Regions from separate parts of the Homo sapiens genome. Here all the other regions are linked to region 1. The links are contacts of gene promoters, found by promoter capture Hi-C in human tissues and cell types (Jung and others, 2019). All regions are on one chromosome and are shown on one strand. The core of a region is centred on a gene start or on the middle of the fragment in contact, and the rest is flanking DNA. Distances in the headings are between cores, read along the strand shown. Region 1 holds the start of COG1 (component of oligomeric golgi complex 1). Region 2 overlaps LINC00673 (long intergenic non-protein coding RNA 673). Region 3 holds the start of LOC107985005 (a long non-coding RNA gene).

Evidence for each region. The method cuts DNA at HindIII sites, captures the fragments that hold promoters and counts their contacts. A contact is called where the count stands out against the background at its distance.
Region 2: a contact is called between a fragment that was not itself captured here and the fragment with the promoter of COG1 in region 1, in 1 of the 25 tissues and cell types used here (hippocampus).
Region 3: a contact is called between a fragment that was not itself captured here and the fragment with the promoter of COG1 in region 1, in 2 of the 25 tissues and cell types used here (IMR-90 fibroblasts and dorsolateral prefrontal cortex).

Annotation. Positions count from the first base shown.
Region 1 is chr17:73,190,716-73,194,930 of GRCh38, reverse strand. COG1 (component of oligomeric golgi complex 1) reads right to left here and starts at 1,876. Exons shown (of 14, transcript NM_018714.3): 1 at 1,547-1,876. The coding sequence starts at 1,861. RefSeq lists a silencer at 1,385-1,594 and enhancers at 1,645-1,924, 2,555-2,604, 1,890-2,649. The HindIII fragment of the contact is 14,916 bases long and covers 1-4,215 here.
Region 2 is chr17:72,538,544-72,542,758 of GRCh38, reverse strand. The region is part of intron 1 of LINC00673 (long intergenic non-protein coding RNA 673); the gene reads left to right. Among named protein-coding and RNA genes, the nearest start is that of LINC00673, 52 kb to the left of the region's middle. RefSeq lists a silencer at 2,157-2,406. The HindIII fragment of the contact is 3,812 bases long and covers 190-4,001 here.
Region 3 is chr17:72,628,203-72,632,417 of GRCh38, reverse strand. The region is part of intron 2 of LINC00511 (long intergenic non-protein coding RNA 511); the gene reads left to right. It overlaps LOC107985005 (a long non-coding RNA gene), which reads right to left and starts at 2,786. Exons shown (of 3, transcript XR_001752991.2): 1 at 2,437-2,786. The HindIII fragment of the contact is 4,687 bases long and covers 1-4,053 here.

The DNA.
Region 1 (4,215 bases), core at 627-3,126:
CAGATAGCATGAACAAGTTCCAAATTGGAGTTAGACTGTACTTTTCAATTTTTTCTTCTATGTCCCAGTAAGTTCTCCCAGGCTGTTAAAAACAACTAACTGTTTACCTTTTTCACCCTTCATGCCCTTTCACTTCGTTCATTGCTAGGTCTATATTCTTTAAGGGGCCGTGCGCGGTGGCTCTCGCGCCTGTAATCCCATCACTTTGGGAGGCCAAGGCAGGCAGATCACATGAGGTCAGGGGTTGGAGACCAGCCGGGCCAATATGGTGAAACCCCGTCTCTACTGAAAGTACAAAAATTAGTCGGACATGGTGGCAGGTGCCTGTAATCCCAGCTACGCGGGTGGCTGAGGCAGGAGAATCGCTTGAACCCGGGAGGCGGAGGTTGCAGTGAGCCGAGATCGCGCCACTGCACTCCAGCCTGGGTGACAGAGCGAGATCCTGTCTCAAAAAATAAAGAAATAAAAATTCTTTTTTTTTTTTTTTTTGAGACAGAGTCTCGCTCTGTGGCCCAGGCTGGAGTGCAGTGGCGCGATCTCGGCTCACTGCAAGCTCCGCCTCCCGGGTTCATGCCATTCTCCTGCCTCAGCCTCCCAGGTAGCTGGGACTACAGGCGCCGGCCACCACGCCTGGCTAATTTTGTGTATTTTTAGTAGAGACGGGGTTTCACCGTGTTAGCCAGGATGGTCTGGATCTCCTGACCTCGTGATCCACCCGCCTCGGCCTCCCAAAGTGCTGGGATTACAGGCGTGAGCCACCGCACCCGGCCAATAAAAATTCTTTAGGAACGCAAGCTGCAGCTCCAATATGAGGATGTGTTTGTTTACCTCCCATCCTTCCTCATTGTGTCTAATCAATAGCGTTTGGGGGGAAGAACACGGGATAAGGAGAACCTGAATGAAAAAAGCCTTAGTTCTGAAAATGAAAATGTTCAGCTATTAAAAGGTAAGGGCTTGGCCGGCTGTGGTGGCTCATGACTGTAATCCCAGCACTTTGGGAGACCCTGTCACATACATACATAAAGTTAAGGGCTTGATAGCTGGTACCCTCAACAACTCCCAAAGGGTAGAACAGCTATTTGGGGTTGTGGAAGTTATTCTTGGGGAGATAAGGGGAAGGTTGGGATGAGGAAGAAATGACTTGGAGTGCAGGTGTCAACATAGGGGAGAAACCTGAGGAAAAACAATGTCAGGACATGTTATATAGGTGAGCGTTGAACTGTCAAGACAGAAACTCCTGGCGTTTTCCGCTAAAATTGAAAGGAGCCCAGTGAGGTGTAGGAATCAAGGCCCGGAAGTCGGGGGAAAGCGCCTGAAGAAACTGTTGAATGGCATTTCCAGAACGGATCAGCAGCCGCATATGTGCAAGGAAGGCTGGCACTGTCCTCTGAGGGGGGCCCAAAGGGTGAGGGGCGGATAGGCTCCTGGCTAAGGAAGGTGAGGACTCGCGGGGTCTGGGACTGACAGAGGGGGGCGGGGTTGACCTGCAAGGCCAGGGGCTCCGGGACCCGCCTGCGGGTCGCAGGGTGGGGGCACGGGGACTGACCTGCTGGGCCCGCGGTGGCCGGGGCGCGGCCGAGCCGGCCTGGCGGAGGCGGGCGCAGTACTGGTCGGTGGCCTTCACGGCGTCCACTAGCCCCACGGCGCAGCGGCGCATCTGGCCGATGGTGTCGGCCGCCTCGATCAGGTCGCGGTACCGTTCGCCCACCATCTGCCGCAGCTCCTCCTTCTTGTGCTCGATCTCGGCCCGAACCTGGCGCTCCAGCCCGCGGATCTCCTCCGCTCCATGCGTCTCGAAAAGAGCCGCAGGGTCGCGCAGATCCAGCCGCTTCAGCGCGGGTGAGGTTGCCGCGGTGGCCATGGTGCACTCGTCAGCCCCCGGCGATCTACCTACGCCCTTTTAGTCCCGCCCCCTCCGCCATCTTCGTTGGGGGCGGAAGCGCTTCCGCCCCGCCGGGGGCCATGTTTGTTACCCGAGGGGGCGGGCGCGAGGGGGCGGGCGCGAGGGGGCGGGCGCGAGGGGGCGGGCGCGAGGGGGCGGGCGCGAGGGGGCGGGCGCGAGGGGGCGGGCGCGAGGGGGCGGGGGCGGGCGCGGGCGCGGGGGCGGGCGCGGTCCTGCGCGGGGTTTTCTTAAACGGAGCCGGCTGGGAAGTGAGGTCGCCAGAGAGGTGAGGTCGCCAGGTTGGCTGCGAAACTGTGGCTGAAGTCTTCCCTTTCCCTTAGGAGCAGAGCTTCTCTGTGGAGTTAGGTGTCGGGATCGGGCCCCGCGGACTGACGGCGTTGGCGCAGGCGCAGCCGCCGCTCTCCGCGCGCCTGGCGCCCGCGAGCAGACTCGGGCGCGCTCGCCGCCGCTGGGTCTCGGATCGCACCCCGCGTGCAGTTTTAGGAAGAGGGACATCCGCGCCCCTCGCTGTTCCCCGGGAAGAGCTACCACGCCGCCCCTGAAGGGGTTCTGAGCGCTTGTTTGGCGTCTGCTTTTCCTCTGCTGTTGATTCGTGTTGGAGGTTTTCCATTTCGTTTAAAACCGATGTTTAGCCCCTGAAGACGTTTTCCCTGCGAGAGCCTGACCTTGGTGGCCATGGGGGAGGAGGGCGGCGGGCTGGGCGGGAGAGGCTGGGACGCCCCGGGGAACGCAGCGCCAGACGGGTGGGCGCTCCTCACGTGGCCCAGGAATAGTAGAATCTGGAGATTGTGGCTTGTTTCTGCTAAGTCCCAGACCCTTCTTTTTTTTTTTTTCTGTTTTAATTTCTTTTGGAAGATTTCACCCACACCAGTGTCGACAAAATGATGCAATGTGCGCAGCGGCCATGCTGAGCCCCCAGCAACTCAGGGCCTACCCTGCATCCCTGCTCATTCCCTCTCCCACCCGCCACCTCCGGACGCACAGAATTTCAATCTGCAAATAAATGGTGCATTTATAATATTCCAGTTTAACCCGCAAGAGCCTTGCGGCGTAGGGAGTATCATTCTCACTTTACAGACTCATTTTACAGATGGGGAAACGGGGGCCCGGAGAGGCAAAGGGTTTTTTACTCAGTAAAAGTGCAGTTTTCAGAGCCTGTCCACGAGATTATCTCATTTTCTCGCACATCGGCCATGCCAGGTAGGTAGGAGTAATATTCCTAGTCCATTTATGAGGAAAAAAAAAAAAGAAACAAAAGCTTATTTACCTGCCCAAATTACATAGCTGATAGGTGACCCAGTGAGTATTTGGACGTCGATTTTTAAATTACTGGCTCGCGCTCTTTTCTACGTTTTCACATAATTTCCCACAGAGCACCCTCTGTTGGCAGGCCTGCAGTTTGCAGTCTCTAATCCCATTCTGCAAGGGACACTTACTGGTATTCGGCTGATAAGCATCCGCAGTATCTCCTTTCTGTGATTGGGGAATTCATCGCTATCTAGCAAAATCTTTTTTTCTGGCGCCCTTTATAGCTACGGTGCCAGCCTGCGGCCTGGGACTGGCACAGCAGGCACAAGCGCCTAGGACTTGGGTGAAGAGTTAGTGACATTAAGAAGCAGGCTGTAATCCCAGCACTTTGGGAGCCCAAGGCGTGTGGATCCCTTGAGCCCAGGAGTTCAAGACCAGCCTGGGCAACACGGCCAAACCCCGTCCTTACAAAAAAATACAAAAAAAGGGGCGCGCGCCGGGTGGCTCATGCCTGTAATCCCAGCACTTTGGGAGGCCGAGGCAGGCGGATCACATGAGGTCAGGAGTTCGAGACCAGCCTGGCCAACATGGTGATACCCTGTCTCTACTAAAAATACAAAAATTAGCTGGGCGTGGTGGCGCACATCTATAATCCCAGCTACTCGGGAGGCTGAGGCAGCAGACAGGAAGCTGAGGCAGGAGAATCACTTGAACCTGGGAGACGGAGGTTGCAGTGAGCCGAGATCGAGACACTGCACTCCAGCCTGAGCGACAGAGTGAGGCTCCGTCTCAAAAAAAAAAAGAAAAAGAAAATTAGCCGGGAGTAGTGGTGTGGGCCTGTGGACCTGTAGTCCCAGCCACTTGACAAGAGGCAAGTGAGGCAAGAGGATCACTTGAGCCTCTGGAGGTCGAGACTGCGTCAGTGAGCCATGATTGGGCCACTGCATTCCAGCCTAGACAACAGAACAAGACCCTGTCTCAAAAAAAAAAAAAAAAAAAAATCGCAGGTGACAGGGGCGATTGCATTTTGGTGGTGGCACAGGTATCACCGGCAACATCCACTC
Region 2 (4,215 bases), core at 846-3,345, 650 kb after region 1:
AACCTCGGGTCTGGCTGGCTGAGAGGCTACGCTCTTTCCTGTTCTGTGCTCACCTGCGGGTTTTAGGAGCAGTCCACAGAAGATCCACTGATGAGGAACACAGACAAAGTGGGGCTGGACGGTAGGAGGGAAGCCAGGGGATCGTGGTGTCCTGGATGCTGGGAGACAAGAGGCTTCCAGGAGTGCAAATGTCAGGGCTGCAAATTCCTCTTGGAGGGAAGCACTGAGAGCTCTCATTGTACCTGGCAGTTGGGCTGTCATTGAGTGACCTTGAGTCAGAGCAGTTTCAGGGGCAGGGTGGGCGTGGAAGTCAATTGCAGAAGCCAGAGAAATGGCTGTGAGGGGCAATGCGGAGGAGTGTTTCCAGAAAGCCAGCTCCTGGGCAGGGGGCTGTCTAAAGAGCAGGGGTGGATCTACTGTGGAGATGAGGCAGAGCCCCTCCCCTACACAGCCCTCCCTGACTGGCCTCAACTGTGTATTTACAACTTCATATCTTAAAGAGGCTGCCTCTCCCTCTAGAAAACATGTATGTTTCAGGTCTCACAAAACCTGGATCCACCTACGGCTGGGGGTTGGGGGATGGATGGAAAGATGGGATCAAGGAGTGTAAGTGAAGGAGCTGGCTCTCAGGCTCTGACTCCAGGCCAGGCAACCTTGAGTGAGTTTTTGGACCTCTGGGTGCTTCCATTTCCTTTTCTGTAAAAAACAAACAAACAAACAAACAAACATCATAAAAAACTCATGTCCTAAGGTCGTGGTAAAGGTTAAAGAAGATAAAGTACAGAAGGAATTCGCACAGTGCTTTGCACAGAGCAAACGCTCTATGCTTTTCCTGTAATTTCCTGTTATAGTGTTCATATTAATATGCATATTCCTGATTGGTGCTCTGAGAACTTTTCCGTTGCTGTGTTGGGTTCCTCCAGTGGTTTGTGGATGGAGATCATGGGGTGTGTTAGTCCATTTGCATTGCTATAAAGGACTATCTGAGCCTAGGTAGTTTGTAATGAAAAGAGGTTTATTTGGCTCAGGGTTCAGCAGGCTGTACAGGAAGCATGGCCCTGGCATCTGCTTGGCTTCCGGTGAGGCCCCAGGAAGCTTCCAATCATGGCAGAAGGTAAACGGGAACCAGCATGTTACATGGCAAGAGGGAAAGCAAGAGATGGGGGAAGGTACCAGGCCCTTTTAAACAATCACATCTCACATGAACTCTTTTCTTTCTTTCTTTTTTTTTTTTTTTTTTTGAGATGGAGTCTTGCTCTGTCACCCAGGCTAGAGTGCAGCGGCACAGTCTTGGCTCACTGCAACCTCTATCTCCCAAGTTCAACCAGTTCTCCTGCCTCAAGCCTCTCGAGTAGCTGGGACTACAGGTGCGTGCCACCGCGCCCAACTAATTTTTTTGTATTTTTAATAGAGATGGGGTTTCACCATGTTGGCCAGGCTGGTTTCGAACTTCTGACCTCCAGGGATCCACCTGACGTGGCCTCCCAAAGTACTGGGATTACAGGTGTGAGCCACCATGCCAAGCTCACATGAACTGTTCTAGTGAGAACTCACTCGTTACTGTGAAGATAGCACCAAACCATTCATGAGGAATCCACCCCCATGATCCGAACACCTCCCACTAGGCCCACCTCCAACACCGGAGATCACATTTCAGTATGAGATTTGGAGGGAACAAACAGCCAAACCATATCACGTGCTCTCTTCTTGAGTCACCCCATAATTTGTACCCAAAGACCAGGGGGCATATGGGATCACGTGCTGTTTCCAGGAGAGATGTGTTGTAGGTTTGTGGGCCTTGAAGGGCTGTGGGCAGTGATCCCGCCCAGATTCTCTAGACACATGTTCCAATGGTGTCCGCTCACAGACATGGACCCCAGATCTGCGCCATCCCCTGCAGGATGCCCCAGAGCAGCGAGATGCCCCCTTTGCTCTGGCGCCACTCTCTGAGAACCAAACCTTTTAAACTGTGAGCAAGTTGCTGGAGAAGAGAATGGGCCTGGGACTGCAAAAGTAACCTCTCTCCCGAAGGAGGAGACAGGATTCCCGAACATCCTCTGGGGCAGCCCTGGGTGGTGGAGTGCGCCTGGACAGCTGGTGTCCGTCTGCAGGCTCCTGCCTCAGGCCCTGGAGTGGCAGCTTGGCAGGTCCAGACCCTTCCCCAGGGACAGTTGCGGCTGGGAACCCTGGACCTCTTCCCTGGGCCTGAGCCGCTTCCCCGTGCGGCCGTTCGCCGAGTGGCCACTTGATGGCGCTGTGGCTCCACCGGGCGCGGGCGCGGGCGGAGCGGCGCGTCTGCTTCCAGCCGCCGGGCCGGTGCTGCCGCGGTCACCCCCGGCGCCTGGCTGTGCCCGGCGCGTCCGCCCTCCCGGCGCGCGGCTGGTGGGGCGCAGCCCTCGCGGCCGGTTCTGCCCGAAGCACAAAGCCACTGCTCAGAGCCAGCGCCTCCTGCTTGCAGCTCCCCAGTGAAAGAAGTTTGGGTCCTTGGTGGTGTTTTTCTCCCTGGCCTGGATGGTCCTGCAGAGGCCCCTTGCCACCTAATGACTTTATTCTTCTTAAAACATGTTTCTTTCTTTCTTTGCTTCTTGTTTTTGTTTTGATTTGTTTATTGGCCTGTACTCCGTTTCTGCCGTCTTACCAATAGCTCCTGACCAAGCCCGAGGCCTGCTAGAGAACTGTAGTTTAATTTAACCTCCACCGGCCAGGCTGGTCTGTTTCCTCTTTTCAAGCTTCCCTGCGGTTCTAACTTTGCTCCAGAAGATTCCTCCTGGAGCTTTTGCTTGGGAGAGAAAGGCGTTTGAACGCAGAGTTCAAGCGAGCTGGCCAAAATGGAATGCAAAAGAAGAAAATTTAAAAGAGAAAAGAAGGAGGCTTCTCAGAAATGAACTTTTCATCTGATTCCAAACATTCTGCAGTGCAGTTTTGTAAAAATACCAGAAAACACAAAGAAGCAAATAAAACACATCCATGATTTTGCGTCTAGAAATGGCTTTTGTATTTTAATATGTCTTTCCACGATTTATTGTCATTGCATAGATATACGTTCCCTTTCATCCCCCCGATTGGGTCAGTTTACTCATTTAGCTGGGTCGCCTGCTTTTTCATTGAACGCACTGGGAGCGTTTTTCCTTGGCAAGCTGGTTTCTGCAAGTTTCCCTCAAGTTTCCCTCAAACTCTTGAAGTTTTGCATGCAGGTCACTCCCAGGCAGGTTGCTGTGTGAGATAGCCTCACTGAAGCTGGGATTTGGACGTTTGGAAGAGGATGATTGAATTGTAGCTTCCAGGGAGGACAGAATTGTGAGCTCTTTTTGGAAGACCAGAGTTACCCATATTTGTTTAGCAAAGCGAGCAGGCCCACTTCAAGTCAGCGGTTCTCAAAGAGCCTGAGCAGGGTGCTGAATTCAGGCCTCTGAGCTTTGAGCGCCCCTCCCAGAACCCCTAGGCATCTGAATGTAGGTCGGAGGCTTCCCAGGCTGCCTGAAGTCTGGGGACTGAGAGGCGGGGCTCAGGGGTCACTGAATCAGCCCCTTCCTTGTCCCTCTGGAGGACCCCGGGATAAATGCAAAAGGCGTGTGTGTGTGTGTGTGTGTGTGTGGGTGTGGTGGGGGGATTCGGAGGTGGAGAAGGCAGATCAGGCCGCTTCTCTAGGTCTGTCCTCCCTTTGGGACAGGAGCAGTGTGGCTGCCAGAGCTGACCGCCTTCCTGCAGCTCTGAGCGTGCCGAGCCTAGCAAGCTTGTGCTTCCACCTAGAGCTGCAAAGGGCAGCGGGCAGAAACCGGGCTGGGGCTGGCATTAGCTTTCCCTCCTCCCAGTTTCTCTCCAGCGCAGCAGGGCACCTCTAGCCCAGAAAAAGAAAACTAACTTTCTCTTATTTCTGTTTTCTGCTGCTGCTAATCTCCTCCTGAAGGGTTGTGTGGCTTCTTGGGACTCTGGAAAGAAACTGCAGGGGACGAGGACAAAGGAAACAGCTACTGTAGTCACTGCAGCTATGCAGGCTCTGTGCTAGCCCTGGAAAGGCCTGGACGTTCAGGTCTGCTGTGCCGGGGGTAGGCCCCAGAACAGAGCGGTGGGCCCATCGCTCTGCAGCCACAGCTGCCAGGGCTCAAACCTTGGCTCTGCCCTTACCTGGCTTTGTGATCTTGGGGGATGCACAGGACACTCTGTGCCTCAGTTTTCTTATCTGTAAAATGGGGCAAATACCTACCAAGTCATAGG
Region 3 (4,215 bases), core at 461-2,960, 560 kb after region 1:
TGTGATATTCCTGGCCTGGTGACTGGCAGTCACGTGGTGGGAGGGTGGAGGCAGGGAGGAGGTGACCGAACAGAATAGGACAGCCCAGAGTGGTTTGCAGGATGCATCAAGAAGTGCACACAATAACCTTGGCAGCATCCATGGAGGCCGCTTCCAGGTTCTTTTTGGTCACAAAATCCCCTTGCTTCTGTAAAGCCTGCCACCTTGCTGGCTACGAAGGAGGGGCGACCCTTTGCAGGCGGTGTTGCATTTGTAGGGAGTCTGATTTGGGAATTCATACTTCCAGTCTCCCTCATCCCTGGTCTGTCCCGTATGCGGTCGGGCACATGAGCCAAGGGCGCGCACTGCACTGCTTCGGTGTGTATGGTATTTGCTAAAGCCATCAGAAGAGCCCGCTGCCAATACGGGAAATGATTTTTCCTAATGCAATGCTCTCCTTGGGCTGTTTTTATGAAAATGATGTGTCGGAGTCTCTGCGGCCCCTTCACTGGCTCTGGTTGGCTTCTGGGAATGAGAGCTCAGTGGCCCCCTGGCACGGATCCCCACCCCTGGCTTTTAGAAGGCTGACTGACACATTGCGTGTCAGTTAATGCTGCCTGCTGGAAGCCTGGGGCTTTGCCGGGGACTGTGGATCATAACTTGCATTGTGTGCATCAAGGGCCCTGACAAGTGCTGATGGATTTGGCTTCCTTGCGGCTCCTGAGCCCTGGGCGGGGACAAAGGGGAGCATTGTTTGGCAGGGCAGGCCTCTGCCTGTGAACCCACTCGTTTGCCTGACGGTAGAGACAGGTGTATCACACGCTCAGCATGCCAGAGCTATGCTGGATGATCAAGATCTAAGTTTTGTTCCCCAGGGCCAGGCTTAGAGAAGCAGACATGGCCCAAGGAATGGCCCGTGGTCACTCTTCTCCCTGAAACCAGCCCCTGACTTTTCTTTTCTCTGTTTGCTCTTCTGAGCTCTGCTCCTAAAATAAGATCTTGTTAGGGAAAGAAAACAAATCTGCCCCAACTTCCTGTCCTTTGTAGCTCAGGAGGGCTAGCAGGATGCTGAGGACCCTCGCTGGGGAAGGTAAATGTGGACCACTGTTGTGCCAAGGCTGTGTCTCACCTCCTGGTTGTGCTCCACGGTGGCCCCTGTGGGAACCATTTCATGACCCTTCCAGCCTGATGCAGCCCGGTTGGGGGAATTGCATGGGTAGATCATTTTCTTGCACGTCCTAGTTTATTGCTATAGGTGCTCCAAACTATTATCATCACTTTTAAATTAAAAATTGATTTTCATTAGGCATAATAACAGATAAATGAAGTTTAGTAAGTCAAATGGCATGAAAACCATTTTTGAAGGAAGTCAGCCATGCTCTGCCCTCTACTTCCCCAACTCTGAATCTGCTCCCTGGGGGCACCTCTTTAAATTCTGACTTAGATGTTTCTTTTGATATTTACCTCCTACTTCCCAATACCATGCTCATCCTGGCATTTCTCCTTGTTTTGGTTTTAAACATTATCTATTGAATTCTTACCTGAAAACGTGAAAGTTTCCTTGGGCTTACACTGGGCTTCATGGAACTCTAGCCTTGCTAAAGCAGCTTAACCACATAAGGGTAGATGTCTCTCGTGTAACTTGAAGTACAGCAGAGGTTCAGTCTGGGTTTGGAGAAGTGACTCTGTGGTACCACTGGGGACCCCTGCCTCCTCCCATCTTTCCACTCCATAATCCTTAGCATGTGTGCCTGCCTAAATTCACACTTCCCTTCATACTAAATAAAATGACCCGGGTCAGGGACTGTGGCTCATGCCTGTAATCCCAGTATTTTGGAAGGCTAAGACAGGTGAATCACTTGAGCTCACAAGTTCAAGACTAGCCTGGGCAACATGGTGAACCCCCATCTCTACAAAAAATACAAAAATTAGCTGGGCCTGGTGGTGTGTGCCTGTAGTCCCAGCTACCTGGGAGACTGAGGTGGAAGGATGTCTCAAGCCCAGAAGGCAGAGATTGCAGTGAGTCAAGATGGCACCACTGCACTCCAGCCTGGTCGATAGAGCCAGACTTCGTCTCAAACAAAAAAAGTAAAATGACCCAGATTTTATACCAAGCTGCAACTATATCTACTATGCCCAGTATAGTAGATAGTAGGCAGAATAAGGGTCTCCTAAAAATGTCTATGTCCTGGCCGGATGTAGTGGCTCATCCCTGTAATCCCAGCACTTCAGGAGGCCAAAGTGGGAGGATTGCTTGAGACTGGGAGTTTAAGGCTGCAGTGAGCTACAGTTGCGTTACTGTGCTCCAGCCTGGATGACAAAGCGAGACCCCATCTCTATTAAAAATAAAAATAAAAACAAAAAAGATGTCTGTGTTCTAATCCCCAAAAGCTGTGATTGTCTTATGTTACATGGCAAAGGGGATTCAAGGTTGCAAATGGAATTAAGGTTGCTTACCAGCTGACCTTGAGATGGGGAAGTGACCCTGGATTTTCCCAATAGACAGATGTAATCACAAGTGTCCTTGTAAATGGAAAAAGATGGCAGAAGAATGTGAGTCAGAGTCGTACGAGGTGTGAAAGACTCAACTGGCCATTGCAAGCTTTGAAGACAGAGGAAGGAGCCATGAGTCAAGGAAAATAGGTGGCCTCTAGAAGCTGGAAGAGATAAAAAAACAAATTCTCCCCTGGAGCCTCCAGAAAAGCACTTGGCCCTGCCAAGGACACCTTGATTTTAGCCCAGTGAGACCCACTTCAGACTTCTGACCTCTAGAACTGTAAGATAATACATTTGCTTTGTTTTAAACCACTCTTCATGGTTATTTATTACAACAGCAATAGGAAACTAATATACCAACCTAAAAACTGTATTTCCCAGCCCATTGTAGCTACAGGGCGACACAATTCTGGCCAAGGAGACAAAAGCAGTAGCCTGCTGATAATTTTTCTAAGAAAGTTTTGTTTTTCTGAGGTAGAGGCTGTTCTTTTCTCATTTGCTGCATTCTTCTTCCTGCCTGGAATACAGATGAAAAGCTAGAGATGGGACAGCCACCATAGCACCATGAGGCAAGCATGAGGATGGAGTCTGTACACCAGCTTTGGTAATACAAGACAGACAGTCAGCACTGGGCACATTGGGATATCACGAAACTGTTGCGTTGTGACTGCTCCCACCGGACTTTTGTATTTGAGCACAATAAATGTCTCTTTGCTCATGGATCTGTTTTATGCCACCCTAGGCAATCCCTGAATGAAATACTCTGCTGCCAGGCTCTCCCAAATCTTCCTTTTTCTTGATTTACTCCCTCATTCTGATGGAGCATATCCTTCCATAGTTTTCTGTGGAGGAAAATTTTTTGAGAACTTGCATATTCTAAAATGTTTTTGTCACACTTGATTGATAGTTTGTTTGCTACAGACGTTTAGGTGGAAAATCAGTTTATCTTAGAAATCTGATATTATTGCTCCATTACCTTCTCATCTTGTGTGTTGCTATTGAGTTGTTCCATACTCTTCAGATTCCTTCTCTTTTGTATATGAAATTTCTCTCTCTCTCTCTCTTTCCCTGTCTCTCCTTTCCTCACCTCCTACTTCCCTCCTTTGAAGGTTATTTTATGTCTAATGAGCTGAAGTTTCATGACACAGGGTCTTGGTATGGGTCTCTTTTCAGTCATTGAACTGGGCCCCTGATCATCTATTTCAATATGGAAACTCATGTTCACTTTCTTATTTATTTCACAATTTCCTTTCCTCAATTTTTTTCTGTTCTTCTTTTGGAATTCTTATTTGTTGGATCTTGGAACCCCTGGTTTGATCTTCTTTTTCATCATTCTGTCTTACTGTTTCTCTTAAGGAATAAGAGAAACTTAGTAATTTTTAAAAGCTCTAGTTGCCATAAAATTCCTTCTTGTGGCCTTCTGTTCTTCTTTCCTGAAGGCAATTCTTTCTTCTGTCTATCCAGGGATAATAATGAAAGGAGGTCACCGTTTTTCTTTTTTTTTCTCTTTTGCTCCCTATTTTCTCCAGGTTTCTTTCTCCTTCCCTGCTCCCACCACCCCCACTGCCCCACACTATTTTCTTATTTTAGTCTCTGTCTTTCCTACTGGGAATTTTCTCCGACTGCCTGATGATGCTTGCCTCATTGAATGCTCTGGATGTAGGGGTGGAGGTGGATGGGACCAGAGAGCTGGTAAATCTCGCTGTAGGGCACTTAGAGAGAGACTCCACTTTTCACTGG